Linked DNA regions of Homo sapiens: region 1 is linked to region 2. The links are contacts of gene promoters, found by promoter capture Hi-C in blood cells and fetal thymus (Javierre and others, 2016). All regions are on one chromosome and are shown on one strand. The core of a region is centred on a gene start or on the middle of the fragment in contact, and the rest is flanking DNA. Distances in the headings are between cores, read along the strand shown. Region 1 overlaps OXCT1 (3-oxoacid CoA-transferase 1). Region 2 holds the start of TMEM267 (transmembrane protein 267).

Evidence for each region. The method cuts DNA at HindIII sites, captures the fragments that hold promoters and counts their contacts. A CHiCAGO score of 5 or more calls a contact.
Region 1: a fragment that was not itself captured here is called in contact with the fragment with the promoter of TMEM267 in region 2 in 1 of 17 cell types (total CD8 T cells); the score reaches 6.7 in total CD8 T cells.

What each region holds. Positions count from the first base shown.
Region 1 is chr5:41,851,781-41,856,810 of GRCh38, forward strand. OXCT1 (3-oxoacid CoA-transferase 1) reads right to left here. Exons shown (of 17, transcript NM_000436.4): 4 at 1,639-1,774. Among named protein-coding and RNA genes, the nearest start is that of OXCT1-AS1, 16 kb to the right of the region's middle. The HindIII fragment of the contact is 1,573 bases long and covers 2,788-4,360 here.
Region 2 is chr5:43,480,793-43,486,306 of GRCh38, forward strand. TMEM267 (transmembrane protein 267) reads right to left here and starts at 3,073. Exons shown (of 3, transcript NM_022483.5): 1 at 3,030-3,073. It overlaps C5orf34-AS1 (C5orf34 antisense RNA 1), which reads left to right and starts at 3,127. Exons shown (of 3, transcript XR_007058763.1): 1 at 3,127-3,209. RefSeq lists a silencer at 2,928-3,158 and enhancers at 3,104-3,947, 3,213-3,402. The HindIII fragment of the contact is 3,795 bases long and covers 1-3,472 here.

The DNA.
Region 1 (5,030 bases), core at 2,324-4,823, 1.6 Mb before region 2:
TACCAAGGGTAATCAAAAGGTTAATTTTCAATAGTTCCACAACCCAAAGAATACTGTATCTTAACCTACCATGTGAAAAATACTGCTATGGACCGAACTGTGTTCTCCCCAAAATTCATATGTTGAATTCCTAGTCACCAGTGTGACTGTATTGAGATAGGGCCTATAAGGAGGTCATCAAGGTTGAAGGAAGTCAAAAAGGTTGGGCCCTGATCTGGTATGATTAGTGTTCCTACAAGAAGAGACACCCAGAGAGTGAGCATGCATGCTCTCCGCCATGCAAGAACCGTGAGAAGTCGGCCATCTGCAAGCCAAGGAGGACTTCCAAGCCTTCAGAACTGTGAGAAACTTCTGTTGTTTAAGCCACCAGTCTGTGATATTTTGTTATAGCAGCCTGAGCAGACTAAGACATCTTTGTTTTTTTTGTTTTTGTTTTTTCAAAAAACTGAGAAAATTGAGTAAATACCAAGCCCAGTGCAATGCTATGGTATGTACAGGTAACGGTGCTATAGAGTGACCAGGTGTGACTGCAACACGAGCCTCAGAATAGTTCCCATGTGTGCTTTCTAGACAAACACACCATGATTTCATTACTAATTTTTAAAAATCTACTAAATTATGTTATTACCAACTTGGCAAAGTCAGTAGCAATATTTTCTGTTGACTAAAATAAAGCGGAGTGGCTCAGTTCAAGAGCTGAGAGCAGAGCATGTCAAAATGAAAGAAGAGCAAACTGTAGACCCTCATTTTACTTAAAGATTTCAGAAAGTTTTCCTTTCTTTATGAATAACTCCAATTAGTTAAGAGATGACATAGAAAATGAGTGAAAAGTTGCTAGATTAATTATAGTAACTGCTTGCTTTGTAGTAACATCAGTTCCCTGGGAATCTAGGTTCTGATCCCAGCACTTACTCAGATATAGTCACATGCACCTTTCAAGGGCTTCACTCTGAAGTGTCTCAGCAAGACCAGATCACCCATAAATTTCTAGTTCTAAAATTCATAGAAATTGGAGAGGCATGGTGGCTTACACCTGTGAGGCCAAGGCAGGCGGCTCATTTGAGGTCAGGAGTTCGAGACCAGCCTGGCCAACATGGTGAAATCCCGTCTCTACTAAAAATACAGAAAACAAAAGTAGCTGGGCGTGGTGGCACATGCCTGTAATCTCAAATCTCAGCTTCTCAGGAGGCCGAGGCAGGAGAATTGCTTGAACTCGGGAGGTGGAGTTTGCAGTGAGCCGAGATCACACCGCCGCACTCCACCCTGGGTGACACAGTAAGACTCTGCCTCAAAAAAAAAAATAAAAATAAATTCCTATAAATTAACTTTTTAGGATGATTCTCAAACATTCCAGCAAATCCTTTTGTATGCTTCTGGCACAATACACATTACAGTGCCAAACTTAAAATCTTATCTTGCAGCCTGGATATCTTTTAGAAATATCTCTTTTTTCAGTACACAGTAGAAGAAAATATTAATCCTCCAGCAATCAACAGGTGTGAGTTAGAAACAAAATTCCCTGGTTTGGCAAAGTACTATTCCTTCTGCCTTACCTCTTTTGCACAAAGAAATTTCCACGGAGAAAAAAGGAATTTTTAAAGTAAGTTAGTATTATAAAAGAAAAGCAAATTTTCTCACCTGTGGTGTCAGCTCCACTTCTAATTCACCAGATAAGTACTGTCGTTCAAATTCTGCATTTTCTCCCACATATGAAGAGACCATGCGTTTTATCTGCTTGGACCGAAGCAAAAGCCCCAAACCAAAATTGTCAACCCTAGAAGGAAAATGAAGGGAGCTTACCAAAGAGCATCTGACAGAACACTATTACATCTTTTTAAAGAGATAAAACTTTGTTAATTTAAAGAAAAATAAATCCTTTCTTATAGGCATTTGATCCACATTCTTAGTCTCCCATAACCCCAAAACTTTTGCAAGGTAGCTATCCTTTTATTTTACAGTTGAGGAAACTAAAAGTCAAGAAGTTTAAGTTATTTTTTTGTGGGAGCGGGGCATGCACAGGGCAAGGTCTTGGGCAGTAAGGGACATACAGCCAATATTCACACCCATGTCAACCCTACAGTTTTACCCCGCACCTTTTGTTATTTTCACGGCTGCAGAGTGATTCTGAGTTAGAAGATAAGCAAAGAGATGAATTGGTTCTTGTCCTATGCTTTGAAGGAACACATAAATGCAGTGACAATATACTGACCCAAAATGAAGATTTGGATGGAGAAGCTCTTTCACTTCTAAAAAGGAGAGAGGGGCATTCTGGTATTTAAAAGAGAGATTAACATGCTCATTGAAATGTGGACCCAAATTATAAATAGCTATGAACATTTTCCCTATATCATAAATCTTTTGCTCAAGAAGATTTACACATTCTTAACAAAAACAAGCAAAAAAAAAATTAATCACAAGCCAGTGAAGAGTGTTAAGTGGAAACAATAATCCTGTATCTGTTAAATTATATATACTATAGTTTAATATCTTTATTATTTTAAAGCTGGCGCTCAATTTATTCTTAGAAATGGTATACACAGTGTTGACTTTATTTTTTCATTGGGTGAAGGTCTCCAGGTTTATGCCTTTCTTTATTTCTATTATTTTTCAAAGCAAAATATGCCTAGAATTTAAAGCAAAGTCAATGTAACAAGATAGATAACTGAATGAATTATTTTTCCATTTCAGTCACCTTAAAGACTGAAGATCATCTTCCATTCAAGAGTCAGAAATATTTTAACCAACTAGAGAAATAAAACATTTCTAAGATAAGAATACTTGACCTTAAGCTTTTTTTAATGGTGAAATTTTTTAATGACAAAATTTTTTTTTAATGGTGAAATATTTTTAATGGCGAAATATCTTTTAATGGCGAAATATTTTTTAATGGTGAAATTGTTTTAATGGGGAAGTATTTTTCGTAGCAAAACACTTTTAATGGCAAAAAGTATGATGAGACACCACCACAAACATGAAGGGATGGCTAAAAAAGAAAAAAATACCAAGTCTCGACAAAGATGTGAAACAATCAGAACTCTCATATGTGCCAAGGGGAATTTAAACTGAAATGACCACCTTGGAAAAACTGTTAGTACCTACTAATGTTCAATATATCCATATGCTATGGGTCAGCAATTCCATTCTGGGTCTATAACCAACAGAAATGCATACTTAGGTTCATCACAAGACATGTGCAAGAAAATTCATAGCAGCACTGTTCATTATGGCCAAAATTGGAGCCTCCCAAATGCTCATCAGCAAAATAGATAATTGTGGCATACTACATAATGAAGTGGGGTATAGCAGTGAGAATGACTCATCTATAACCATCAGTAACAATGGTTGAATCTCACAGAATAATGTTGAGCTAAAGCCAGACACAAGATTATACTCTGAAATATTCCTTTAATATGATGTTCAAAATCAGACAAAACAAATCTATGAGAATCAAAAGTAAGGCTAACGATTAATATTGGTAGTGGGAGAAGAGAACAGCGACTGGAAGGAGCAGGAAGAGGGCTTCCTGGGGTACTGGTCATGTTCCATTTATCTATCTGGGCATTGATGACATGGGTGTGCAGCTTGTAAAACTCCATCAAACTGTATTTATGAGATGTTCACTTTTCTATATTACTCCATACTATGCTTCAAGAAAGCCTTTTAAGAGACAGAAATGTAGTGATAAGGACCAGAGTGCTTCCTAGAAACAGAAGTTTTTATTTACAATCTCTCCCTCCTAATTCCTTTAGTGCTCTGATGGTTCCTTCCCTACAGAGCTTGTGTCATCTACACAGTTCATTCATCTGAAACTCCGTTACTGAGTGCTTATTCTACCACAGGTTTGTTAATTCATCTAAAACTCCCTTACTGAGTGCTTATTCTATCCCTGTGTCAGGCTCTGGAGCTACAATCATGAATAAGACCTGGTCCTGGGCAGCTTTGAAACTGAGAAAATAAACACGTAACCTATAATTACAACAGAGGGAGAGACATGCTAAGGGAATTAGGCACAAATTGTGATAATTCTGAAAATGGAGAACCCAACTTTTGGGGAGGAGAAAGATAGCAGAAAAAATCTTACAGGAGGTGGCACTTACACAGACATAGGAAAAAAGAAAACATCTCGAGAACAGTGTGTGGGGTGGAGGTGTAGAGAAAAACAGACAGATAGACAGCTTTGCAAAGATGCACTCAGGAAACTACATGTTCAGTGTTCCTGGAGTATGGACTGAGGGCAACAGCATGTGGGAGGGGAGAAGGCAGGACCAGTTGTGATCAGCCTTGTGGGATTTCATCCTGAAAGACAGGAAGTCCCTGTAAAAAGTTTTAAGCGGAAATATAACAGTATGATTAGCTGGAAAGCTTGAAAGATGAAAGGCCGGGATATCAATGAAGAGGCTCGAAGTAGTCCAAACAACCAACAGTGAGAGTCTGAGCAGTGGGAATGGGAATGGAGAAGGGAGAAATCAAGAGGGTCTTTGGGGGAAATAATTCATAAGACTTGTTGCCCATCCTGATGAAGCTGCAGACCCACTCCAGAATTCTGGCTTTGGTGATGGAATATAAAGAAAGTTGGTTGGGGGAAATTAACAAGCACTAGTGACGCCTACTTACTTGATCTGGAAAGGTGTTAAGTATGTGACAAACCACTGACATTTCTCCTGATGCCACCTGTTCTCCCAACTTCATTCCACTCTCCACTCTCATACTCCTCACACCGACAAGTGACCACTCCAGCTCAGCTGATTCCTTCCCAATTCTCAGAATTTCATTTCCAAACCTCTTTCCTACCCCCGGCACTCCTGACACAATGAACACTTCAAAGTGTCTAGGTAACAGGTAACTGTCAACCTCCTACTCAACGTGTTTTGCACCCCTAGCCTTCAAATGCTGAATCTGATAAGATTTCCCATCCACCATGGGTAGAAAAGAAATAGCTGCATGACTTACTCTCACTTGGTTCAAAAGAAAACTAATGCCTAAGTAACATAAGCATTTTCAAGAGTGTACTTTTGAGCTAGAATGCCCGG
Region 2 (5,514 bases), core at 1,823-4,322:
CTTACTTTTTTTTTTTTTTTTTTTTTTTGAGACGGAGTCTTGCTCTGTCGACCAGGCTGGAGTGCAGTGGCGCGATCTCGGCTCACTGCAAGCTCTGCCTCCCGGGTTCATGCCACTCTCCTGCCTCTCAGCCTCCCGAGTAGCTGGGACTACAGGTGCCCGCCACCACGCTCAGCTAATTTTTTGTATTTTTACTAGAGACGGGGTTTCACCATGTTAGCCAGGATGGTCTCGATCTCCTGACTTCGTGATCCGCCCGCCTCGGCCTCCCAAAGTGCTAGGATTACAGGCGTGAGCCACTGCGCCCGGCTTACTTTTTTTTTTTTTTTTTTTTGACAAGGTATCTCTGTTGCCCAAGCTGAAGTGTAGTGGCACGATCATAGCTCACTGTAACCTTGAACTCATGGGCTCCTGCTTCAGCCTCCTGAGTAGCTAGGACTACAGAAATGCACAACTATACTTGGCTAGATTTTTGTTTTTAAAGTGTTTTGTAGAGATGGGGTCTCATTGTGTTGCCCGGGCTGGTCTTCAGCTCCTGGCCTCAAGTGATCCTTCCACTTTGGCCTCCCAAAGTGCTGGGACTACAGGCAGAAACTACCACACCGAACCTACTAACTCTACATTTTACATGATGAGTTCAGATTTTAAAAGGATTAGTTTGCTAATAAAGTGTCGTGAGCAAAGTGAAAAATCAAAAGATTACTTGAAGTATTTACATGATGATCCAAATTTAAAGCGACCTCAACAAGCAAAATTTACTGTTTACAAAAAACTGTATCACGGTTTACGAATAGGAACACATATATTATATATAATGGGTATAATGCGAATGCATTTTACCAATGGAAAGTACAAAACAGCTTGCTGATGAAAGAGGAAGGAAAAAGCTCACAGTGAACTTGGAAGCAGATCCTTCAGCCCCAGTCAACCCTTCAGATGTCCGCAGCCACTGCCGACATCCTGACTGCAACTTCATGAGACCCTGGGCCAGAACCGCCAGCTAAGTCTTGACCCCACAGAAAGAATAAAATTATTGTCTACTGTTTTTTGTTTGTTTGTGTTTTGTGTGAGATGGTTCCTCGCTCTGTCACCCAGGCTGGAGTGCAGTGGCATGATCTCGGCTCACTGCAAGCTCCCCCTCCCGGGTTCACGCCATTCTCCTGCCTCAGCCTCCCGAATAGCTGGGACTACAGGCGCCCGCCACCACGCCCGGCTAATTTCTTGTATTTTTAGCAGAGACGGGGTTTCACCCGTGTTAGCCAGGATGGTCTCGATCTCCTGATCTCGTGATCCGCCCGCCTCGGCCTCCCAAAGTGCTGGGATTACGGGCGTGAGCCACGGCGCCTGGCCCCTACTGTCTACTGTTTTAAGCCTCTAAGTTTTGGTGTAATTTATTACACAATAGATACGTAGAAGAGAACTATTTCTATTTTTAAGGAAGGTATAATTGCAGTTCCAGAACCCCACATTTCTGGCATCTATTCTACTCCAACTTTTGGTGCAGATATTTAACATCTGGCTCAGAGTCTGAGTATTAGAAAAAGAGAAATTTACTAAGTGTTCTTCCTGTATTACTTATTGTCTCTGAATAATACACCTAAGGGTACCCATTTTTCTTCTTAAACTTTTTATTTCCTTTTCCACTTCCTATTCCTCCCCCTACAAATAAAACGGACTCCCGAACCTCCTTTTACATATTCACTTTTGTTGATAAGGTTCCTTAAGAGTAGTGATCTCTTTTAAACTTGTCATGTTTAAAAATCCAGTGTGCTCAAGGTATTTAATAAATATTCCATTTTACTAATACAAGAGATAATCACATAATAAATCCGCAGCCTATGAACTAAAGATACTGTTTGGGATAGCTTCTCTGACATAACTGACATATTATAAATTCCTCCCTATGACTCGCAGAAGCCATTTTCTGCAATGGCCAAACTTTGTCACACCCCATCCCCCTTATAGCAAATACCACTAACTTTGGGGCCTTCAGAGTATACATAACAGTACTTTTCTCCTTCCTGAATTCCACAAACATATAATTAGCTGGTCACTTTAATTATACGCTATCATGTATTGTTTGCTAATAATCTCTTAGACATTATTTCTGTCAAAACAAATAAGAGCTGATACATTCTCTAAGTAAGTGTCATCTGTTTTAACTTTCCCTCTTCCCCACCAACCTTACACATTATATGCAAAAACCCAAGGTCAAAACACGGTCCAAATTCCAGAAACCGCCTTTATTATGCTTTACCAGTAAGTCTTCTTCACTGAACTGTAGTTGCTGTAAACTTAATATATTTAATTTCTTTAATGGAAAAATATCAAAAGCAGATGCCAAATCTGATGCAACTAACTGACAAAGGAAACACAAATCTTGCTTACTTTCACTGAAACTTTTTATAGCCATCAGATGTCTGCACTTAAAATGTTTAGTTCCTATGCCCATTACGAATAAAACAAAATTCTGTATTTCAACATGTTTCAAGCCTCAGAAGTTCCCAGACATCCTTTTCTGAGTCTGGTGTGATGCAATAATTTTTCAAATGTCATTTAAAAAAATGGGCCAGGCTGCAGGGAAAGGACCATGTCACACTCTCAGCATTCAAGCCTCAAAGGCTCCGGGGCACGAAAGGCTCTTACAACCGGTTAAGGACGGCAATGGGCTCCTTCGGCACGACTCCCGGAACCCCACCCTGGGCCAGAAAAAGGCCAGGGGCGCGGAGCGTAGGCGGAGGGCTGGGGTTCTAGGGATCTAGAAAAAGCGCGAAGCCGGAGGGCGGCGCCAGGGCTCCTCGCAGACCCCAGGGCCGCGGGACGGTGCCGGCTCGTGGGTCACACGCACCCAGGAGGCTCCTGGCTCCCGCGTGGCGGCTGTTCCAGCACGCCCTCCGACCCGCAACCGGACCCTCCAGACATCAGACTCAGTGGTCCCCCACCTCCGGTCTCCCACCTCAGGACGCAGTTCCGCGGCGTCCACCCGGCCCCCTCCCCTCAGTCCCACGCAGCGGCTCAGCCATACCCACCCCGGCTTCTCTGAGTTCAATCCAGCAGCAGCTCGAGCAGCGGCTCCGCCCCTCGGTCGGAGCCATAGAGACGTCGGCTGCCGGCCAGAGTGGCCTCAGACCGCAGCGTCGGCCGAGAGGACGCCGGGATACTGGCCAGCTCCAAGTCGAAAGGAAGCGACGCATGAGTTGTTTGGTGCGGTGGGTAGATACCTCGAGTTTCTCCTCGCCCACCGTAGGCCCCGACCCCTAAAAAGGAAACTTTTGGGACGTCAGAGTGAGAGGAGAAAAGTGTCTTTTTAGTTTAGTTTTGTCAAACCTGAGGATTCGTTTTTCAGTTTAGCCGGAGCTGTGCCGCAAACGTAGCTGCCGACATCCCCACGACGCACCCAAGTGGTGGCCCGGAAGCTGGGGATAGAAAAGTGGCCTCCCCGAATGCCAGGCACACAGGCCTTACTACCAGAAGCTTGAGCTGGGAGCCTCGGCCGTCGCATCTCTAAGGTGCAGCGATACGGCCAACTTCCTTCCGCGAAGCCCTCAGGGTGGGCAACGGAGCTTTTCACCAGACTGAGGGACCGGGCGACCTGGCCGACCGGCGGCTCCTCACCGCCCCCTTGGGGATTTCTTGATAATTCTTTGCCACGATGCGGGCGGATGTTGTGGAGCTACTGTTTGTAGATCGCAGTAGCGTGACAGCACTTAATCATGACTACTAAATCCTCAGAAGTCGAAAAAGCAAGTCCATACAGAATAGTTTGACCCTAATTAAATTGCGCTTACAAGATACAGTTTGTTTACTGGGACTTTGGCTAGGTCCCATCCCGTCTCTGCCTCAGAGTGGTGGTTGCTCTTAGCACCAAGGAAATACCAGCTTGACATTTGACTCTAGGAAGCACAGGCCCAAAAGAAGAGGCCCAAGGAGGGACATTCTTCTTTCCCTTTCCTACCTACAGTTTCTCAAACCAAGTGTCAGATGGAAAGCAAGGGGTGGTATCATCGTAATTATACAGTTGACCATAGAAAATAAATTTCAATCTCAAAGTAAACTCCTAGGCCACCCCCAGAATCTTAGAGTTTCTCAATCATAGAACTCATTTCTTGTCACAGTCTTGGTTCTTAGCCAATGTAAAACACCCAACTGACAGGGAAAATTAAACACCTTTTAACTCCCACACACCTTAAATGAGAATTTAAAGTATCTTTCAGCAAATGTATTTATAATTTTGAGTGCTTTTAGCCATGTTAAGGACAAATTTTCTCCTTCTGAATGCAGTAATAATTTGGCATTACCCTTTTGGCAGTGTGGTACAAAGTCTTATAATCTAGGCTTTATGGAGCTATTGAGGAACAACATAGATGGCTTCATGCAAACCCAAACAATGTAATAGTAGTTCTTTTCTCTGTAGTCGGTCTACTGCCTGTAGATGTTTATTCCTTTTTTTTTTTTTTTTTTTTTTGAGACAGGGTCTCCCTCTGTCACCCAGGCTGGAGTGCAGTGGTGCAATCATAGCTCACTGCAGCCTTGACCTCCTGGGCTCAAGGGATTCTCCGGCCTCAGCCTCTGGAGTAGCTGGGACCACAGGCACATGCCATCGTGCAGGTAATTAAGTTTTTTGTAGAGATGGGCATCTCGCTATGTTGCCCAGGCTGGTGTTAAAGTCCTGGGCTCAAGTGTTCCCCCCTCCTTGGCTTCTCAAAGTGTTGGGATTACAGGCGTGAGCCACTGTGCCCAGCTTACTGATTCATTTATACAAACAGAGTGCTCTCAGTGTGCTACAGAATGACTATGGAGCTCAAGTTCTAGTGGAGGGTGTGAGCCACAAGGAAACAAGCTAGACAGATTGTAATAAGTACTATAAAGGAAGTAAATAGGGTGATGTAATAGACTTGGGAGATGCTAACTTTAGTCAGGTAGTAAGGAAGGCCCTTTTGAGGAAATGGTACTTGTTTGAGAATTGAAATGTGAAGGAATCCAGTGTCAGAGGAACTAAAAAAAAAAAAAGGCATTGTGCCCCTTTAACTTAGTGACATTATCATTCCTGATCTACACTCTTCTCCCCATTTTTCTCGTTTTCTCTGTTACTGCTTCCCGTTTATTTGAAGAGCCAGGTCTTTTATAGAAATCAGAAAATTAGAACATTTCTGGTTGTGTTTGGTGTAATCTTGACGTCATTATAGATATTTGGTTTTGTTCTTTCTTAATAGACAAGCTTATAATAAATAGCACTTTTGGTGAGCTCATTTCTGTTAAACACTTTGCAGCATAAATCTTTTCCTGTGTTCAAAAGAAAGTATCTGGTTCATGAGACAGTTTAGATACAGTCTTTGCCAAAGTGCCTGATTTTTAGTTTACAATGTTGCTTGTCTCCGTTTTTGTTTTTGAGATGTAGTTCTTGTCTCATAGCTCTACTGAAAAATACTTGGAGTAAAGGGACCAAATAGCAAGTGAACAAATGCACAATTCTGCATATTAAAAAAAAAGAGGCTGGGTGCAGTGGCTCACACC